Regions from separate parts of the Homo sapiens genome. Here all the other regions are linked to region 1. Evidence: promoter capture Hi-C in 16 types of primary human blood cells and fetal thymus (Javierre and others, 2016). All regions are on one chromosome and are shown on one strand. Each heading gives the region's core, a stretch centred on a gene start or on the middle of the fragment in contact. The rest is flanking DNA. Distances are from core to core; before and after follow the strand shown.

Region 1 (2,925 bases), core at 274-2,773:
ACTCTACTTCCTAACATGTTTATCCAAAAGGTAAACATTATTGGGTTCAAAAAATGTGAAATTTGAAAACATTTTCTTACCTATCTATACTCATTTCAGACATGTCTTTCCTAAATGTCTGAAATATTTTAGGGAAACCTGTTGAATGAAACATTTAAAAATCAGCTATTCCCTCTAAATCAAAAGGTCAATTCTACCCCCCCCAGGAACACATGGCAATGTCTGGAGACTTTTTTTTTTTTTTTTTTTTTTTTGAGACGGAGTCTCGCTCTGTCGCCTAGGCTGGAGTGCAATGGCGCGATCTTGGCTCACTGCAAGCTCCACCTCCCGGGTTCACGCTATTCTCCTGCCTCAGCCTCCCAAGTAGCTGGGACTACAGGCGCACGCCGCCACGCCCGGCTAATTTTTTGTATTTTTAGTAGAGACGGGGTTTCACCATGTTAGCCAGAATGGTCTCGATCTCCCGACCTCGTGATCTGCCCGCCTAGGCCTCCCAAAGTGCTGGGATCACAGGCGTGAGCCACCGCGCCCGGCCTGGAGACATTTTTGATCATCGCAAGGATGTGTGCTTCTAGCACAGCCACGGGTAGAGGACAGGGATGCTGCCAAATATCCTGTAATTCACAGGACAGTCCCCAATCCTCCCCAACAAAGAATTATCCAGACCAAAATGTCAACACTAGAGCTTGAGAAGCCTACTCTAGAAGACTTCTCTGCTTCTTTTTTCAAGGAAGTGACTGGAGTGGCTTCAGCACAGGATGTTAAACACAAAAGAGAGTTGTTTTTTTTTTTTGCAGGACTGTTTCAGTAGTACAGCACCCTTAAGGCACTTCTCTGGAAATAATATGAGTGTGTGTGTGTGTGTGTGTGTGTGTCTGTGAGAGAGAGAGAGAGGGAGAGAGAAAGAGAGGGGGAGGGGAGAGGGAGGGGAGGAAGAGGGAGGGGAGGGGGAACAGAGAGAGAGAGAGAGAGAGATGTCACGGTGTGAATGCACGCAAAAATGTTATAAAAATGAGCACTCCCAGCAGCCTGGGCAACATAGTGAGACGCCAGATTAGCTGGGTGTGGTGGCGTGTGCCTGTAGTTCCAGTTACTCGAGAGGCTGCGGTGGGAGGCTTGAGCCCAGGAGGTCGAGGCTGCAGCCACTGCACTCCAGCCTGGGCGACAGAGCGAGACTCTTGTCTAAAAAAAAAAAAGCACTTCATACAGCCATGCCCAAGTTCAACTTTTATGGTGTTTCGCCTATATCCTAAATCGTGCCTCATCACAACAGCTCAGCCAAGGGTTCAGTGTCTCTGACAAGGGCGTGAGAGAGATTAGGTGTGTGGAATGGTGCATGCATTTAGAAATCAGGCACGACGCGCAGGTCGACGAAGGCACCACCCAGGAGTGGGTGGACCAGGTGCCCCCTGGAGACGAGAAACCCTCGAGGAAGGGGTGGGTCGGGGGCGGTACTTTTATGCGAGGAGGTGCTGGAGGGTGGGCTTGCGCTCGGCGTTTCAGTGCTGGTCGCGCTCTGGCTGGGCACGAACGTAGAGGTCAGGCTAGGGCTGACGATGCTGGCTAAGCGGGGGCGCACGTCTGGGAAGTCGTCGTCGTAGTCACCGATGTCCGTGACCTTCCAGAGGTACTCTTCGCTGAACGTCTCAGGGGCCTCCAACTCCTGCTCTTCCCCCACCAACTCCTCCTCCACCACCTCCTCCTCCTCCTCCTCCACCTCTTCCTCCTCCTCCTCCACCTCTTCCTCCTCCTCCTCCACCTCTTCCTCCTCCTCCTCCTCCTCTAACTCCTCCTCTGACTCCTTCTGGTCCTTCTTCCCCGGGTCTCCGAAGCCGCTAGGCGAGCGCAAGTGGGCCATGGCTGGCGGGAGGCGGGATTACAGCCAGCTCTTTGGCCGCGGCCCCGGTCGGCTCTCGCGAGCGCGAGCCTCTGTTGTGCGTTGGTCTCCCCGGGCAACTGCTTGCCCTGCGCCACCGAGCCTCCCGGATTTAAAGCGGCAGGAGCTGGTTAGCCGGATAGAATGTGGGTGCCGAGGGCCGGTGGGGGCCACCGCAGACTTCTTTCTGTCCCTGCTCTTCAGCGTCTCTGAAACCCCTGGCAGCCTGCGGAGAAACGATCTTTTCTTCGTCTCTCAGCTTATTTGGGGCCTTTTTTTTTTTTTTTAACTTGGGTGGAGGAAGTGGCTTCTAGCGACGGACACACACGGTGCCATTTGGTATTGCGGATGCTGGAGTCTGGTTATTGAGTAGACAGATGCTTGCTGGAACGTCCAGTGAAACTTTATTTACAAAATCAGGCGCCAGCCCTTGGGCCCTCGTTTGCGGATATTTTTAAAATAGCTTTAAATATTAATAAGCGTATTAAAATTGCCTTAAATGTTAGTTATCTTAAATATTGTTAGATTAATATTAATTAATCTTGATTGGCGACATTTTTAGCGTCCCATAAATTTTGCTCCTTGCTGTGATCTGGGTCCTGCTTCTTACTTGGCCCATCTATCCATCCTGGAGTAGAAAAGTCCTGAAGCATCTGGCCACCTAGGTACCACCTGCGTCCTTCTGGGACTTTGTATTTACTTACATTTTTGTAAAATATATACATTTTTTATTTTTGAGAGACAGGATGTCACTCTGTCACCCAGGCTGGAGTGCAGTGGCGGCATCATGGTTCACTTCAGCCCTGAACTCTTGGGCTCCAGTGATCCTCCCACCTCGGTCTCCCAAGTGGCAAGGACAACAAATGTGTGTCACCACGCCTGGCCAATTTTATATATTATATTATATTATATTATATTATATTATATTATATTATATTATATTATATTTATTTTGAGACGGAGTCTCGCTCTGTCACCCAGGCTGGAGTGCAGTGGCACCATATCGGCTCCCTGCAACCTCAGCCTCCTGGGTTCAAGCAATTCTCCTG
Region 2 (3,069 bases), core at 570-3,069, 140 kb before region 1:
ATGGTACTTATTGTTCTGGGGCAAGAGAACTAGATTTCATGTATTGATTGTGGTCTTTGTTCAGTTTCTGGTTAACTAAGTCAGAAACCGTTACTGATTCTTCCTTAAATATGTTTTTTCTTAATTAAAATAAACATCCTTCATTAAACTAAGAATAACTCTTAAAGACCATCAATTCTGAGTAGGCTCCAGTTGCAAAGCAAAGAAAAAAATAAAGGTTAACAACAGCAACAAGAAGAAAACAAGAAAGCGTCTTGTAATTCTAAAATAGGTTATTTGCAGCAAGTTGTAAAGATTTCCATGTTAGGTGTGTGTGTTTAAATACTATGTGGTAATTTTTCATTCTTTTCAGTGACTGCTTATCTTAACCTCAGTTATCTTCCTCAAACCTGAGTAGAACAAAGTTACTTACAGCAACTTCTGGAATAAGATGGAGAGTCTTTTTTTTTTTTTTTTTTTTGTTAAACACCCCAGAGTGTTTAGTACATAACAGTAAGTCAGGCCAAACTGATTTCAAAGCTTGGCTGTGGCATTTATCAATAGTATGATCTTGAGCAAATCGTCAAATCATTTTATTTTTCTAAGCCTAAATTTCAGCACTTGTAAAACAGAAATGATGACATTTGTAAGATTGTTGTAAGGATTAAATGAGAAAATGTACATAAAGTGGTTAGGTACATAGAAAACATCCCAAAATGGAACTGCTTTTATCATACAATTATTGTCATTTTTGTCATTGTACCATAATAATTCTTAGAATCATATCTTTTAGAGATTGCTCTTGAGATTGTAGTAGACATCAAATGTCTCCTTACTGATTTCCCTAGCTGCTATAGCTTCTATTTATTTAAAAAAAATTTTTTTTTTAATTGAGATGGGATCTTGCTATGTTGCCCGGGCTGGTTTTGAACTCCTGGGCTCAAGCAGTCCTCCCACCTCAGCCTCCCAACATGCTGGGATTACAGGTGTGAGCCACTGCACCTGGCCCATTTATTCAAATTTAAAAGTATACTTTTGCGGGCCGGACACGGTGGCTCATACCTGTAATCCCAGCACTTTGGAAGGCCAGGGTGGGTGGATCACCTGAGGTCAGGAGTTCAAGGCCAGCCTGGCCAACATGGTGAAACCCCGTCTCTACCAAAAATACAAAAATTAGCCAGGCGTGGTGGCATGCGCCTGTAGTCCCAGCTACTCGGGAGGCTTAGGCAGGAGAATCACTTAAACCCAGGAGGTGGAGGTTGCTGTGAGCCAAGACTGTGCCACTACACTCCAGCCTGGGTGACAGAGTGAGACTCCATCTCAAATAAAAAATAAAACAAAAGTATACTTTTGCCATTTTCTCTAGCACCTCTGCCTTTCCTTTGGTTTGATAGACCTCAGCTTCTCTATAGATTAGTTTTGTGTTCACTTAAAGGCATTTTTTTCCTTTTCAGCTGAAGGTGGAATCATCCATGTGTCTTCTATTTTATATCATTTCCCAGCACTAGCCTTATATAGGAGCCTTTTGGTAAAATATACATTTTTTTTTTTTTGAGATGGAGTCTCACTCTGTCACCCAGCCTGGAGTGCAGTGGCACGATCTCAGCCCACTGCAGCCTCTGCCTCCCGAGTAGCTGGGATTACAGGTGCCCACTGCCACGCCCGGCTAATTTTTGTAGTGTTAGTAGAGACAGAGGTTCTCCATGTTGGCCAGGCTGGTCTCGAACTCCCGACCTCAGGTGATCCACCCACCTCGACCTCCCAAAGTGCTGGGATTACAGGTGTGAGCGACTGCACCTGGCCCTTTTTTTTTGAAGTTAAGGTATTTCCCGCATATTTTCTAGAACCAACTTAAAGTTGATTTTTATGAAAAATGAACATTTTGGGCTGGGCATGGTGGCTCACGCCTGTAATCCCAGCACTTTGGGAGGCCAAGGCGGGCGGATCACGAGGTCAGGAGATCAAGACCATCCTGGCTAACACGGTGAAACCCCATCTCTACTAAAAATACAAAAAATTAGCCGGGCGTGGTGGCGGGCACCTGTAGTCCCAGCTACTTGGGAGGCTGAGGCAGGAGAATGGCATGAACCGGGGAGGTGGAGCTTGCAGTGAGCCGAGATTGCGCCACTGCACTCCAACCTGGGAGACAGCGAGACTCCATCTCAAAAAAAAAAAAAGTCAACATTTTGGAGTGATCTGTATTTGAAAAGAGGTATGAATGTTTTGGTTAGTGTTGACTACTATAAAACAGTATTTCATTGCTGAAATAATTTCTTTTGAAACCAGAGTAAATATTATCAGTGTCACTAACAAGGGACTACTGCACTCCTTCGACCTCCTGAAGGCAGTTTGCCTTGAATTCTCACCCAAAAATACTGTCCTGGCAACGTGGCAGCCTTACACTAGTAAGTATTTTCTCAGTGTAAAAATACTCTGACACGATCAATTACGTTTAGTGGGGGGGAAAAAGTTATAAAGTTTATAACCTCATAAGAAAGTAATTAGTCTTTATGATAGTAAATAGTGTTTGTGAATATTTATGATCTACAGTGAATCTTGTACTCTCCAAATAAACAATGTATTGAAAGTAATTTCAAGGTATATGGTAAGTTAATGTAAAGAGCCATTATGAGCTAAAGGAAAAGAAAAAGCTCAAGGGAAAATTCAGGAAGTAAATAACTGCTGGATAGAGATTTCTGAAGATTAAGAATAATAATGACTTTTAAAATCAAGACTTTTAAATAATTATTATGTGAAAGGAAGTACAGTAGACAAAACATCTAAGGGATGTGTATGGTAGAGTCGAAAATGTTGTGCCATTTTCCAAAATATTTAAAGAGATACTTAATGATAATACATTATATGAACATTTCATATAACTGTGTTTCATGTAATAAAATAGTTATAGGGGCTTATTTTAAGAAACATTTTCTAATAATGTTGATATTTTTGAATAAGTAAATGATAATAGGTCATTATTGGCTTACAAACCTCCTGAGTTTTTGTTCTTTCAAGAGGTATGAACTCTCATGAATCTAATTTTTCCAAGTAAATGAAAGAGATACTGAGAATCAGTTGAGAATCATGAGT
Region 3 (2,924 bases), core at 425-2,924, 170 kb after region 1:
CTGAGAGGCCCACTTCAGTCTACTTTAATTGCCTCCATTCTGTTCTGACCATCTCTTGTCCACACCACTGCCTAACTAACTAGTCTCCGCATGCCTAACTGGTCTCTGCATGCACTTGGGGCTCTCTCCAATCCATGTTCTACTCTGAGGCATGTGTTCAAAATGCAAATCTTACCAGGCCACTTAAAACCTTTCCAAGGTTTCTCACACCTTATAGTCTACACTGCCTTGCGGTGGCCCCACCTTTTGCTCCAGCTGCTTCACAACCACTCTTTAGCCCCACAGGCTTTTCTGTTCCTCAGGCGCATTCACCACAGGGCTTCACATCTGCTTGCCCTTCTTCCCCTTACCCTGTTATCTCTATGCAGCCTTCTTACTTCAGCTAACCATCTCTTCCTCAGACATGCCTTTTCCTTTTCTTTCAGTTCTTTATTATAAGATTGACGCACCCAAAATCTCTTCCCTTAGTTTTCAAGTTTATCTTTATTAAAGTGCTTTTTGATTAATTGCCATCTCCTCAGAAGAGCCTAAGTTTCATAAGAAAAGAGGGTGTGCCACATCTGATTTTGCTCGCTGTGCTGATTTTCCCCAGCATCAAGCATAGTGCCTGGCACATAGGGCATGTTAAAAAACATTGAATGGCCAGGCATGGTAGCTCATGCCTGAATCCCAGCACTTCGGGAGGCCAAGCGGGCAGATCACTTGAGGTCATGAGTTAAAGACCAGCCTGGCCAACATGGTGAAACCCAATTTCTACCAAAAAATACAAACAAATTAGCCAGAGTGGTTGTGTGCACCTGTAGTCCCAGCTACTTGGGAGGCTGAGGCACAAGAATCGCTTGAACCCGGGAGGTGGAGGTTACAGTGAGCCAAGGTCACACCAGTGCACTCCAGCCTGGGCGACAGAGTGAGACTCCATCTCAAAAATAAAAATAAAAATAAAATAAAAAACATTGAATGAATGAATGAATGAATGATTATGTCTCTAAGGCCCTGACAAGGGAATTACAACCATTAACAGAAAATGCAGGCCCAGGTGTGGCTGAAGAGTGCCCACAGCCTGGACAGCTCAGGTCCAGTCTCAGCCAGTTGCTATTCAGGGTTATTTCCACAGTGTGAAGTGAAGGGAATCTTAGGCCTCCCCCAACCTGGCCTGCTCCTACGGGTCTTGTGACATTGGTGAGAATGTTCTTGGAAAAATGATTCACACATCTTGTCTAAGAGCAAACAATAATTCGGGGGAATGTTCCAGTCTAAGTTGATATTTGAAAGAGGAAAATAGTTGCCATCGCCTCAAGGGTTCATTCCCACTAAAGACACAGTCAGTTTAGATGACTAGTCAGAAAAATTAATATCCCCGTCTTCAAGCAAACAGCTTTCTTCTGCTTTGTATTTGAGAAGCTGAAAAAAAAGTCATTTTTCTCAAAACAAAGTTTAAAAGTGAACTAATGGCTCTGAGAAACTTCCAGTTATTTTTATTTTTTTATTTTATTTTATTTTATTTTTTTTGAGACGGAGTCTCGCTGTCGCCCAGGTTGGAGTGCAGTGGCGTGATCTCGGCTCACTGCAGGCTCCGCCTCCTGGGTTCACGCCATTCTCCTGCCTCAGCCTTTTGAGTAACTGGGACTACAGGTGCCCGCCACCTCGCCTGGCTAATTTTTTGTATTTTTAGTAGAGATGGGGTTTCACCGTGTTAGCCAGGATGGTCTCGATCTCCTGACCTCGTGATCCGCCCACCTCGGCCTTCCAAAGTGCTGGGATTACAGGCGTGAGCCACCGCGCCCAGCCACTTCCAGTTATTTTTAAATAACATGTCTCCACTCTGAAGAAAAAAATCAAGTATTACCGGGTACCCTGTTTATAAGATAAAATAACTTATTTTCACTGAACATTGATATACAAAGTAATTAATAGTTTTATATATCAAAATTATACTTTTACATCTAAAACGTAGGTACTTAATCTTTCCTCCATTATTTTACTTATTTATAGACTTGTTCCAGGAATAATTTAACCCAAATTACAATACCATATAAAATATGGCAAACTAACATAAATTATAAACAAATTAAAAATTCAAAGGAGGAATAAGGGAAGGAACATAAAATGGATACAAGAATGAGGTCAATTTAAAAGTTGGCTTTTGTAAGGACCGATACACTACCCGACAGTCATCCTGCTTTTCTTCCTTCTACAAAACCCTGATTTTGTTCTAATATCAAGTGCCCTGTTCTCAGACTCAGAGGATGAACCATGATGATCTGAGTCATGGATCCCCTAGCTAGACAGCTCTTGTTAAAAGGAATATCTTTATTGTTTGCGACTTTTCGTGAGATCTCTTACTTGCAGCTGAGCAGTTCCTTACTAATGCACTGGTGTGTTTTTTAATTCAGCTCTAAGCAGTCAACTCCAAAAGAGACATTCAGTAAGAAACAATGTAGTGTCCATAAAACAAAAAACAGGCCCGCACCTCAGGAAAAGCACAATGTAAGTAAGATTAAGACCACATAAGCCCAAAGTCTGTAGGGATCCACTTATTTGTCCAGTGTATTTAAAATCCCCAGTGAAAACACCAATGATAAAGATACTATAATCCGCAATTCAAGCCTAATTGCCTTTCTCTTCTGACATAATTTATTATTCACCTTGAAGTTTCATTTCCTACATGGTCCTTAAGTTAAAACATTATTCTTTGAGCCAAATGCAAATGCATTTAATAAATGAATTTGAATGAATGCAGAAAGATTGTTCTTTGGAAACTAACCTTGGGATTGTGAATACAGTGCCCTAAGTCTGTGAGGTGGCAGATTAGCGGGGTGGCTGGCGGTGTCTACATTATTCTCGTGTACTTCTTTTAGAAGGAATATGTGTTTACTCTGTGTATCTCTTCAGAAAGAACATAGGCATTTAACAGGACAGGGAAA
Region 4 (2,838 bases), core at 321-2,820, 150 kb after region 1:
TCAGGTGCATAGCCCTGTTTATTAGATAGATTATCATATATAAGTTGAATTGGATTAACCTTACAAAGTTCATTCAAATTGCTGATGTCAGCAATTTCAGTACTGGCTGACTTAACCTAAAAATCTGCAAAGTGGCCATCAAAGATTTTAAAGGCAAATATAGAAGTTTACATCATTTTGGACAAAAAACTTAGCTCTTTTAATATTGAGAAGACTCAATTTTCTTAAGTAATCAAAGATCTAATAGAAGACAACATGAAGAACAGGAAATTATTTTAATAAAACACCCTACTTTTGTTTCACAGGCCAATTATCTAAAATACCTTTTACAACTTCCTATTAAAAGAAGAGGCTTACTCCAAGGAAATCCTGTTTCAATGGAGAGGACCAGATTCTACTTTTGCATCAGTGTACTTTTGATATTAATGCTCCATTTTTAAAAAAAAACTTATAATTCCCTTCTAATTTTAGCCACCCTGATCACACATAAAATTTATTTCCTAAGATTCATAAACTTTCTACATTTTATATCCTTTAAGTCATTTGTCCTATAGTTTTCTTCTTTCTTATTTTGGGACAATCAATCATTCTACTTTAGGAAAAAATTACTTTTTTTAAAAAAACAAAAACATACTTTTCATCTAAGCTTCACTTACAAAAACATGTCTTACTTTTTTTGTTTCTCTTATTTCTAATTTTAATTGCCATATATTAATTCGACTTTTTAAGTATTAGTAACCCCAATTTCTAGTGAAAACCTAGGAAGTGAGCAATTTTGAACTGTTTTGTATCAGCATTTAAAATAATTTTTAGAAACATTTTCTCAAAACACAATTTTTGTTTATTAACAGACCCACATATTAGCTTCTCTAGACTGTATAAAAACATGCCAAAGTTTGTAAAATTAAACTTTTGCTTAAAAATTAAAGTTTTAGCATTTTAACCTACTTAGAAATAACCCAGACATTTTATGAATCTCTCTTAATTTATTATGACTTTAAGACTTCACTGAAAAAGAATTTTGAAACTATGACAGGTTCACCTAAACAACTTTTATCCCATTCCATCAGGGGGTTATATCAAGGGACCTTTGGCCTTTTCTTTACTGACCTGTTTGATCATTACCCTAAGTAATTGTTAGCTAGGTTGTTCATTGTAATTTCTGCCTTCTGACTTTAAAAAATTTCTCCAAACTGGGGTAAAAAGAGTGAATTGATTTGGGATCTTGTAATGTTGGCAGACCGGCAGGTGTTCCTCTGTTTTGTCTAATCTTTGGTAGATTTACCTTTTGTTTTAACCCCATCACTATTTGCTTTACTTACCCCGTTTTTAATAACTATTAAAATTTTTTTAAATTAATTATTTTAAAAATAGAGACAAGGTCTTGCTATGTTGCCCAGGCTGGTCTTGAACTCCTGGGTTCAAACAATCCATCTGCCCTGGCCTCCCAAAGTGCTGGGATTCCAGACATCAGCCACTGTGCTGGGGCAACTATTAAAAAGTTTTAACCCAAATTTGCATTTCCAAAGGAATGGCTTAGTAAATAAGGTAGAAAATTTCCATCTCAAAAGCACAGAGCTGAGACTTTAGGTCTAAATACCATTATTTGCCCAAATCAAGGAAGGAGGATATAGATAAAGGCCCAGTTAAGACATAATGGCCAAGAATAAACACCTTAAACAGGTAAGGCTTGCTATACAGTTTGGGTTGTAACAGCATTCCCTGCCTGATATTTTCCTTCTGAGTATTTGGAATAAGGCCCATCCACAGAAAGTATTTATTCAGGATTATCCAGTGGAGTATCTTGTAAATCAACACGAGGGGCCACTGATTCTAATATTACATGTACATAGTTATAGTCTTCACTGTCAGACAGTAGAAGTAGTGGAGTCTCAAGGTTAAGTAAGTTGCAGTGTTTTATTTATTTTATTTTTAAGATAGGGTCTCACTCACCCAGGCTGGAGTGCAATGGCATGATCATACTCACTGCAGTCTTGAACTCCGTGGCTCAAGTGATCCTCCCACCTTAGCCTTCCGAATAGCTTGGACTACAGGCATGTGCCATCATGCCTGCTAATTATTTTTTTTTTTTTGGTAGAGACAGCATCTTGCTATGTTGCTCAGGCTGGTCTCGAACTCCCACCTTAGCCTCCCAACACATTGGGATTACAGGTGTGAACCATCATGCCCAGACTGCAGTGTTTTAGGTGGGGTTTGGAAGAAGACAAAAGAATTTAATAAGATGTTAGTCTACTTACTGACAGATGTTAAGTTTGACTAAAATTTAATGGGCTTTCCACAGCACGTGGAACTTGCAAGAAAAGTCTATTCTCTACTAACTTCCCCTTTTTCTATTATCCCCAGAATGAAACGGTAATTGAACAAGAAGGTTAATGGACTCAGAGTATTGAAGTAAAGATAGATGGAGAGAAAAAGCAGCAAGGGTTAGTTCAATGAGGGTATCGTCCTTTTTCGTTACATTCTTAGTTGTTGTTTAAGCTTTGTATATATGCCTTTTGCAAATTTTTTTAGGGAAGCAAATGTTGATTTATTTAATCTTTTAGATGCCTCTGCATACTGGTTAAAAAATGTATCTCCTTGTTTTTACACAGTTTTTGATTCCTTCTTTTCTAATGTCTCTTGCAAATAAACAACTGTATCCAAATTAAAACTTTCCCACTGTGGCCCAATATGGTCTGGCTCTGTGTCCCCACCCAAATCTCATCTTGACTTGTAATCCAAATTGTAATCCCCACATGTTGGGAGAGGGACCTTCTGGGAGGTGATTAGATCATGGGGGTGTTTCCCCCATGCTTTTCTCATGATAGTGAGTTTGTT

The links. Contacts are between HindIII fragments. The CHiCAGO score rates a contact against its expected background, and 5 or more counts as called.
Region 2: a fragment that was not itself captured here is called in contact with the fragment with the promoter of ERICH6-AS1 in region 1 in 2 of 17 cell types (erythroblasts and megakaryocytes); the score reaches 6.2 in erythroblasts.
Region 3: a contact is called between a fragment that was not itself captured here and the fragment with the promoter of ERICH6-AS1 in region 1, in 9 of 17 cell types (activated CD4 T cells, fetal thymus, erythroblasts and 6 more). The highest score is 8.8, in activated CD4 T cells.
Region 4: a contact is called between a fragment that was not itself captured here and the fragment with the promoter of ERICH6-AS1 in region 1, in 2 of 17 cell types (erythroblasts and megakaryocytes). The highest score is 6.7, in erythroblasts.

Annotation. Positions count from the first base shown.
Region 1 is chr3:150,702,041-150,704,965 of GRCh38, forward strand. It overlaps ERICH6-AS1 (ERICH6 antisense RNA 1), which reads left to right and starts at 1,524. Exons shown (of 3, transcript NR_121675.1): 1 at 1,524-1,627. It overlaps ERICH6 (glutamate rich 6), which reads right to left and starts at 1,880. Exons shown (of 14, transcript NM_152394.5): 1 at 1,456-1,880; 2 at 81-138. The coding sequence starts at 1,858. RefSeq lists enhancers at 1,756-1,835, 1,986-2,075. The HindIII fragment of the contact is 4,487 bases long and covers 1-2,925 here.
Region 2 is chr3:150,560,277-150,563,345 of GRCh38, forward strand. It overlaps EIF2A (eukaryotic translation initiation factor 2A), which reads left to right. Exons shown (of 14, transcript NM_032025.5): 4 at 2,266-2,384. Among named protein-coding and RNA genes, the nearest start is that of EIF2A, 15 kb to the left of the region's middle. The HindIII fragment of the contact is 2,605 bases long and covers 518-3,069 here.
Region 3 is chr3:150,867,345-150,870,268 of GRCh38, forward strand. No RefSeq gene overlaps it. Among named protein-coding and RNA genes, the nearest start is that of MINDY4B, 37 kb to the right of the region's middle. The HindIII fragment of the contact is 8,369 bases long and covers 1-2,924 here.
Region 4 is chr3:150,847,547-150,850,384 of GRCh38, forward strand. No RefSeq gene overlaps it. Among named protein-coding and RNA genes, the nearest start is that of MINDY4B, 56 kb to the right of the region's middle. RefSeq lists an enhancer at 1,327-1,828. The HindIII fragment of the contact is 1,853 bases long and covers 645-2,497 here.